Regions from separate parts of the Homo sapiens genome. Here region 1 is linked to region 2. Evidence: promoter capture Hi-C in human tissues and cell types (Jung and others, 2019). All regions are on one chromosome and are shown on one strand. Each heading gives the region's core, a stretch centred on a gene start or on the middle of the fragment in contact. The rest is flanking DNA. Distances are from core to core; before and after follow the strand shown. Region 1 has its middle 15 kb from the start of KIF26B. Region 2 holds the start of SMYD3 (SET and MYND domain containing 3).

Region 1 (4,720 bases), core at 285-2,784, 1.4 Mb before region 2:
GTTCTCTTCTTGCTTCCCCCCAAGTTATCCTTTTTGTGGGAAGAGACTCTCCAAGAAAGAGATCAATGATGCAGATGAATTTCAAGGATTGAGGTCTGTCAGATTTCAGAGTCCACATGTGGAGGGAATGTCTACCTTAAATTACCAAAAGGTAATGATTATAGCTTAAGTGTATTGAGCTGTACTATGTGTCCAGTACTATTCTAAGCCTTTCATATAAATTACCGAATTTAGTCCTCATGAGGCAAGCATTATTATTCATCCTCATTTTATTTTATTTTATTTCATTTCTTTTTTTCTGAGACAGAGTCTCACTCTGTCACCCACGCTGGCATGCAGTGGTGCAATCTCAGCTCACTGCAACCTCTGCCTCCTGGGTTCAAGCGATTCTCGTGCCTCAGCCTCCCAAGTAGCTGAGACTACAGGTGCACGCCACCACGCCCAGTTAATTTTTGTGTTTTTAGTAGAGATCAGGTTTCGTCGTGTTGGCCAGACTGGTCTGGAACTCCTGACCTCAGGTGATCCACCTGCCTCAGCCTCCTAAAGTGCTGGGATTACAGGAGTGAGCCACTGTGCCCAGTCTTCATCCTCATTTTATAGATGAGGAAAGAGAAAGTGGAGGCTAAGTATCTTGCCCAAGGTTGCATAGCTAGAAAGCTGTGGGGCCACATTTTCAACCCTGGCTTTCTGACTTTGGAGCCTGAGCTTCTAAACATTAGATTACATTCCCCCTCCCCCATAAAGGGGTGGAAACACCAGTTCTGGGCATCTCAGCTACAAGAGCATACATGAAGGAAAGGCTTTAAACGTCTATGTAAATTTGTCAATAACATAAAAATAAAGATGACCTGAATGTAGCACTTGGGAGGTCAAAACAGAAGCCATGAGTAGGTCTCAAGAAGTATGTTGCTCTGGGTCAGGGAATCCTGCAACAGCAAAGTCGCTTGTTCACTGTGGCACGGAGAGGGGTAAGTAGGGAGAAGTGTGGCTTGCAACTTGGAATTCGAACCCTTTCCCTGCCACACTAACTTCTTTGGTGGTGTTGGCATATCATTTAGGCTTTTTGTATTTTGGGGCTTCTCACAGTTCTAAGTGAAATAACGATGTTAACTTTATCCAGAGAAGAATATGGGGGAAGTCCTAATCACTTAGTATAAATTATTCTGAAAACCAAACTGCTAAAGCATAATGCTCTATGCTGGCAGAGAAGTGAATATTGCACTAGAGAATCTTCCAGGTGTCATTTAAAATTCAACAGTGATGGGCCTCCAGTAACTAAGGAAGATGACTTCACAGTCTGCTAGATTTTACGGTCATTGTTTTCACCTTGAAAGCTTGCCTACACTTTCTTAATTTTAATTTAAATCCATCCCTCCTTTGAAACCTCCTAAACTAGGTGTGTTTCTCTCTTTGTTCTCACCCCTAGACATGGACTTCCTGAAAACAGTCTTGTTTTACCAGTTATTTTTAGATTTTATACATATTCTAGTTGCTTCAGTCTTCACTTTGAAGCCATCCCTTCTAAGTTGTTTAATTACTGTGATCATACACTACATTTATCTTTCGGGCAATAAGATGTTCAGAACAGAATGCAATATTTTAGATTAAGTTTCAGGCTGGGTGCGGTGGCTCACGCCTGTAATCTCAGCAGTTTGGGAAGCCGAGGTGGATGGATCATGTGAGGTCAGGAGTTTGAGACCAGCCTGGCCAAGATGGCAAAACCTCATCTCTACTAAAAATACAAAAATTAGCCAGGCATGGTGGTGGGTGCCTGCAGCGCCAGCTACTTGGGAGGCTGAGGCAGAAGAATTGCTTGAATCTGGGCGGCAGAGGTTACAGTGAGCTGAGATTGCGCCACTGCACTCCAGCCTGGGCAACACAGGGAGACTCTGTCTCAAAAAAAAAAAAAAAAGAAAAAGTTTCAACTGAGCTATTTCACATGAAAGCAACGCACTAGATTCATGATACATACTGAGTTCCTCCATATACCTGTAACCAGAGCCACACCCAGTGCTGTGCTGAGTGTTAGGGACACAAAGATTAAGGACCTGGCTACCAGCCTCAAGGAGCTTAGAGTCGAATGGTTATAATGCACAGATTTTTGAACCCTTAAATGGGTGTCTCAAATCTTGAGTCAGAGCTCTGTAATTAGCAATCATTTTGCACCTTAGCTCTGCACAGTGGGTTTAGAACTCTTCAGGAGTAATCAATTTAATAGAGAAAAGAGGGCAAATAAAAACACAAATGGATAGCACGTGCATAGCTATATTGTTAGTGATTAGGGAAGATCAGATTGCAGTCCCAGAGGGACTGTGAAGAGTGTCATGGATCAGTGGGACTCATCGAGAGACGCTTCCTGCAGGAAGTAGGCCTCCCTTAATGTAGCAAAAGTTTACATTATTTCTGAACATTAATTATGTAATTAATTACATAATTAATTTCATTAATGTAAATTATTCATTTACATAACTAATGTAAATTAAAGTTTACATTAACTACATTTAATTAATGTAAATTAAAGTTTACATTAATTCCATTATCTCTTGCCTGTCTTTAGGGAGAACTGCTTTATTTATTTATTAAAATTTTATTTTATTTCAAATTGAGGGGGTACATGGGCATGCTTGTTACGTGGGTACATTGTATACTGGGCTTCTAGTGTACACATTACCCAGAGAGTGAACATCATACCTGATGGGTACATTTTCAACCCTTGCTCCCTGCAAGTCCCTGCCCACCCACTTTGGAGGCCACGTGTCCACTGTTTCCATCTTCATGTCCATGTGGACTCACTGTTTTGCCTCCACTTACAAGTGAGAACACGCAGTTTTGATTTTCTGTCTCTGAGTTAGTTCCTTAGGATAATGGCCTCCAGCTCCATCCATGTCACTGCAAAGGACATGATCTCATGCTTTTGTATGGCTGTTTTTTTTGTTTTTTTTTTGAAGAGATAGTCTCACTATGTCGATGAGGATGAAGTGCAGCGGCATGATCATAGCTCACTGCAGCCTCGAATTCCTGGGCTCAAGAGATCATCCCACCTTAGCCTCCTGAGTAGCTGGGATGATAGATGTACACCACAACTGGCTAATGAAAAAAAAAAAAAATTGGCTGGGCGCAGTGGCTCACGCCTGTAATCCCAGCACTTTGGGAGGCCGAGGCGGGTGGATCATGAGGTCAGGAGATCAAGACCATCCTGGCTAACACGGTGAAACCCCGTCTCTACTAAAAATACAAAAATTAGCTGGGCATGGTGGCGGGCGCCTGTAGTCCTGGCTACTTGGGAGGCTGAGGCAAGAGAATCGCTTGAACCCGGGAGGCGGAGGTTGCAGTGAGCTGAGATTGGTCCACTGCAATCCAGCCTGGGTGACAGAGCAAGACTGTCTCAAAAAAAAAAAAAAAATAGCAATGTGGTTTTAGGATGCTGCCCAGGCTGGTCTCAAATTCCTGGCCGCAAGCAATCCTCCTGCGTCAGCCTCCCGAAGTGTTGGGATTACAGGTGTGATCCACTGCACCTAGCCAAGAACTGCTTTCCAAATGTCTACCATGCAGAGTCAGGGTCATTGTCTCCGTGAGTAGGAAGTTTGATGTTTTGGCTTGCCTTCATGCCTTTGATTTTCTCATACTTTTGAGACTCCATATTTTCACACTTTATTTTCCCTTCTGCAGGTGTGTTGGCAACACCTCTCGATTTAGCTCATCCCTGCATTTTATCTGTTGCTTTTTATTCCCCCTTAAAGAACATTAAGATGAGAGCTAAGGCCAGAGCCAGTGCTGGTGTCAGGCCTCCCTTCCTGGGGCCTGTGGGTCACATGTCACAATTTGTGGCCTAGAGCATTTGGTTGTGTTTTCAATCCATGCACCTGTGTTCTTCTGGGAGCTGAGATTTGCTAAGATTCGCTACAGTGAAAGTTTTATCTAAGTAAACATCTCTCACCTCTTTTGGGGACTTTTCATCTGTGGAATGAGTGAAACGGTCCAAAGGTGATCAAGTACGCAAGACAGCCTCCTCTCTCTAGGACCTGGATCTTCCTCGCTCCTCATTCTCATGAACCATTAGTGGGTTTTTTTTCTTCTTTCTCTTAGGACATGGTCACAGTTGTGTGCAGCAGTGAAGCTGGACATAAGAGAGCACAGCCAAACTGGGGCTGTGGGGTGTTTCCTCTCACCTGTTCTTCACCTGTTCTTGCCCACTCAGAGCATTGTGGCCCCTGGCTTTTATTACTGCTTCTTTAGTTGCCTGAGATGCAGTCTTCATTGGGAGGAGCTTGAAAAGAACTCACTAGCAGGACCTAGTGCACAGCAGGCATTTAATAATGATTTGTCTTCGGCTCTCTCTGCAACCTTGTGAGTGGCATTGCACCCTGCAGCCTGCTGTTACACACAGAGTCAGATTAGCTATGGCTAGTCACGGCTAGTCACGGCTGGTCATGGCTAGCTAGTCACGGCTGGTCATGGCTAGTCATGGCTAGTCACAGCTGGTCATGGCTAGTCACAGCTAGTTACAGCTAGTCAGGGCTAGTCACAGCTGGTCATGGCTAGTCACAGCTAGTTACGGCTAGTCACGGCTCATCACGGCTCCTTGTGGCTAGTCACGGCTAGTCACGGCTAGTCATGGCTAGTCATGGCTTGTCACGGCTTGTCATGGCTCATCACGGCTTGTCCCGGCTCGTCCCATGACGGGATTCTCTGGGCATCATTCTTCTCCTGGGACTTGGTG
Region 2 (4,351 bases), core at 734-3,233:
TCGCGCTAGGGGTGCAGGCAGTGACCTAAGTTTAGCCAATCCAAGACACTCACTGAGGACTTTGAATAAAAGCCAGTATCACAAAGAAGAATGGTTGAGAGAATCACTCTCCAGCAACAGTGAGTTTCCCAAGGAGCAGCAGCAGCAGCAGCACCAGGGTCCAGTGTCTATGGTGTTCGTGGTACCTACTGCAGAATCCAATATTATCAGGCGACAGAAGTGATATACACCCCAGATCCCAGCCCCAGCTACTTTTGCAGTGCAATCCTAACTTGGTTCAGCCGATGCCCAGTCAAGTCTTGGCAGACTTTAAAGCAACACTGAGAACTCCCCCAAAACTCTTTCATTAAATTCCTTTTTTGCTTAAATCCCCAGTTACTGCAAACAGGAAAAATGAATGAGACTAATGAAATAGTATGGTAAATCAACAAGCATCCCACCCACAAAGGGTTTGTGTAGCTTATTTTGGAAATGCACAATTCCGTGTGTCACAAGACTCAACTTCAGCTCTAATGATTCAATTGCCAATTTGTCACCATTTATTCATTCCAAAACTTTTCTGTTCCAAGAACTATCTTGAAAGGAACGAATTGTTTTCAACCACACAGTTTACAAAAACTTCAAGATGCTGCTCTCTCCCGAACAGATGTTTTCGCTGTTATCATTACTTCAGAAAGCAACAGACAAAATTATTATTTGGTAGCTCTAAAATGCAAAGTCATATTCCTGAATTATGAATCAAATGAGAACAAAGTAAGAACAATGGTCAAATTACAGATACGAGTTTTGCACTTACCGTCCCACCTCCACCCACCTAAATCTCAGACTGGCAGGTCTGAAAAGCGGCCATGCACAAAATCATCGCACTCATCTCAAAATAGAACTCTTCTTCCTCGCACACAGAAGCTCAATAATATTTGTTGACTGAATGCAGTTCCTATTATTCATGTATGTTACACATTTCCATAAATTGCTTTCACATAGCACTTTACACCGGCACAGCGCGTCCAGGCTTCCAAAACACCTTCACGTGAATCCCTGCATCTAGAATGGTGGTTAAGAGTTAGACATGCCTGCACAGCCATTAAATGGCACAGCACACGGGGGACCCGTGTCTGATGCTCCCACAGCACATTAATTGCCCCTCTATTTCAGCCCTTCTGGTACACTGTAATTCTCTCTCTCACTTGATCAGCTCTTTGAGGAGGTCCCGTTCCTCTTCGTATCCCCAGGCCACACACAACCCAGACCACAGAGGTGCACCGTAGACATCAAGATTCTTCCACCTGCTGCAAGCCTGATGCTTTACCGGCGGGGCCTCTGCAGGGGAGCCTGATTTATACTCATCCCAGCTCCCACCCAGCCCCACGCCCGCCACGTGTGATTTCCACAGCCGCACCAAGGAAGACTGTCCAGCACACAGACTTTTCGTCTCCCAGCAAAATTATCCCCGGCACAACGCTTCCCCCTCAAGTCTGCCCAATGGCTTTCCCATTTCCACCGCAGCCCAGGTTGGGGGGCAGTGGCTGAGCCTGGGCCCCCTCCCAGCCCCGCTGCGGCAACCTAGGGGGGTGTCCGGGCGGGGCCTGTCAGCAGCGACCCGCCCCCGGGCACACGCGCGTCAGGGGCAGCACCGCCAAGCTGCCTGTGCAGCCCCATCCAGCAGGAGTCCCGCGGCTGCCGGCCGCCCGACGCCCCCCCCTCCCCAGCACCCCACACAGCTCGCGACTCAGGTAGGCGAGGGCGCTCCTTACGCACCCGAGAAGGCAGCGGTCGCAGACGACGCCACGACTCCCCTTGCACACCGTGTACGCCAAGGGATCCGAGCGGAAGAGTAGCTCTCCGGGGCGCAGCGGGGTCACGGCGCGCAGCCCGTTTCCCCTCTTGGCGGTTGCGAACTTTTCCACCTTCAGCGGCTCCATCCTCCCGCAGCTCCGGCACCTCAGACGGCTACCCGCGTCCAGCAGCGGGCGTCTCACGGGCTGCCGGGACCCGCGCGCCTGCGCCCTGCGCGCACACGTACGCCCGAGGGGCGGGGCGGGCGCGGTGGGGCAAGAGCATGCGCAGATGGAGTCTGGAGGGACGGCTGGAGTGGAGTGTGTGGGACCTGAAGGTGGTCGTAAGGCTCCGCGTGCGGCTCGTGCCCATGGCGACTGCGCAGAAGACAGGCGGGGTTTTTTTTCTCCCTCTAACATTGTATTACGATCATTTTAACGCATACGGAACAGTTGAAAACAGTGCAGTGAACACCTATATACCTCCGCCTAAATCAGACAACCTAGCACTTTGCCATTTCTGCTCGTCACTCTCTCCCCACCTGTAGCTATGTATACACGTATTGTCGTTAAACTATTTCAAAGTTGCAGGCATCATGACATCACAACTAGTACTTTGCACTGTAACTTTTTTTTGTTTTAGGACGGAGTCTTGCTCTGTCGCCCAGGCTGGAGTGCAGTGGCGAGATCTCGGCTCACTGCAACCTCTGACCTCCGGGTTCAAGCGATTCTCCTGCCTCAGCCTCCATAGTAGCTGGGACTACAGGCATGTGCAATCCTCCCGCCTGGGCCTCCTGACTAGATGGGACTATAGGCTCACGCCACCATGCCTGGCTAATGCTTTTTACTTTCCTCCAGAGACAGTCTACCTATGTCGCCCAGGCTAGTCGCAAACTCCTGGCCTCAAGTGAACCTGAACCTCCTGCCTCGACCTCTCGAATTGCTGGAATTACAGGTGTGAGCCACCACACCCAGCTTAATTTTCTTTTTTGTTTTTGGGGTTTGTTTTGTTTTGTTTTGTTTTTTGAGACGGAGTCTCATTCTCGCCCAGGCTGGAATGCAGTGGTACGATATTGGCTCACTGCAACCTCTGCCTCCCGGGTTCAAGCGATTCTCCTGCCTCAGCCTCTTGAGTAGCTGGGACTACAGGCGCCTGCCACCACGCCCGGCTAATTTTTGTATTTTTAGTAGAGACGAGGTTTCACCGTGTTAGCCAGGATGGTCTCGATCTAACCTTGTGATCCGCCCGCCTCGGCCTCTCAAAGTGCTGGGATTACAGGCGTGAGCCACCGCGCCCAGCCCACCCGGCCTAAATTTCTTAGTTTGGACAAACGTGCCATGGTAATGCAAAATGTCATTATTAAGGGCAGCTGGATGGAAGGTGTAGGAGTACACTATAGTGCCTTTCAATTTTTCTGTGTATCTAAAGTCATTTCAAAAGTAAACATTTATTTTAAAACATGAAGGTGGTTATGCTTCCATGAGTGTAAAGTACAAAAGGCAGGCTCGTGGTGCTGTCAGAAGTCAGAACACTGGTTTCAGGGCTGGGGGTGTTGGGAGGGGCTGGGCATGGTTGGCTTTGTGATCTGGGGGCTGGTGTGTTCCATCTGTGAATATCTTTTAAGCTGTGCACTTACCAGGGATGTAAGTCATATCTTAATAAATTTTCATAAGTTTGACAAAAAATAAAATGAGGATGGGAAGCTTGTTTGGGTTGTGGGGCCTCGGGTGCTTATCCAGCCATGAGCTGTGTCCCAGATGCTTCTAGAAGCCTGGAGGGAGCTGAGAACATTCCAAGTCGAGGTGGCAGAGCCAAGGCCCTGAGGTGGGAGCGCAATGCTGCACATCCCCAGCTGTGAATGGGGTGTCCTGGTCAGAAGCAGTGCTGTGTGCACTGCAGGGCCGGCAAATCCACGTCCACATTGTGGCTTGGTGCAGTGAAAGCCAATCTCAGCCCCCTCCACAGTGTGATTAGCCTGCCAGCAGGTGGCCAGCTGGTCCTCCTGGGAAATGGTGCCAACCCAGAGACTGGGTGCAAGTGTCTCATCCACGGAGGGGCGCTCAGCAGTGGTGTCAGCCTGGTGAGCCTCGGTAAGGGCACGTGCAGGATGCTGAGCCTCTTCCGTTCCCATGCCCGTCTCAAGGCCACTTGCTCCGTGGGCCCATCCAGCAAGCATGGTGGCCAGGAAAGAAGCCGGCTCCATTCACAGGGCGTGCTGTTTTGCTCACCTCAGGACCAAGAGCATCCTCCATAGTGATTCTCTTTGGTGGGAGCACTAGAAACATGAACCACAGATACCTTCAGCGTCTGAGCCGCTGAGGCGAGGGCTGCAGGACACCCTGCTGTCGGGAAACCCTGCACTGGCGGCTGGAAGGCATGTGGTGGTGGCGCCTGCTGTGGCTGCAGCAGTTGCTGCGAGGCTTCGGGATCTCGCCGGCCCCTGCGAGGTGAATTGTGACAGTGCAGAGCTCCGTGGTACCAGGGCCCCCTGCATGGCCATGCTGACTGCAGCTGGGAGCCCACCACACCTCTGGTTCCCCGCTCTTCCCAGGGCTGGGGTCTAGGCCAGGCCCCT

The links. Contacts are between HindIII fragments. The study calls those that stand out against the background at their distance.
Region 1: a contact is called between a fragment that was not itself captured here and the fragment with the promoter of SMYD3 in region 2, in 1 of the 25 tissues and cell types used here (lymphoblastoid cells).

What each region holds. Positions count from the first base shown.
Region 1 is chr1:245,137,906-245,142,625 of GRCh38, forward strand. No RefSeq gene overlaps it. Among named protein-coding and RNA genes, the nearest start is that of KIF26B, 15 kb to the right of the region's middle. The HindIII fragment of the contact is 3,211 bases long and covers 1-3,140 here.
Region 2 is chr1:246,505,296-246,509,646 of GRCh38, forward strand. It overlaps SMYD3 (SET and MYND domain containing 3), which reads right to left and starts at 1,984. Exons shown (of 12, transcript NM_001167740.2): 1 at 1,759-1,984. The coding sequence starts at 1,922. RefSeq lists enhancers at 935-1,435, 1,436-1,936 and silencers at 1,622-1,671, 1,942-2,121, 2,611-2,843. The HindIII fragment of the contact is 21,800 bases long and covers 1-4,351 here.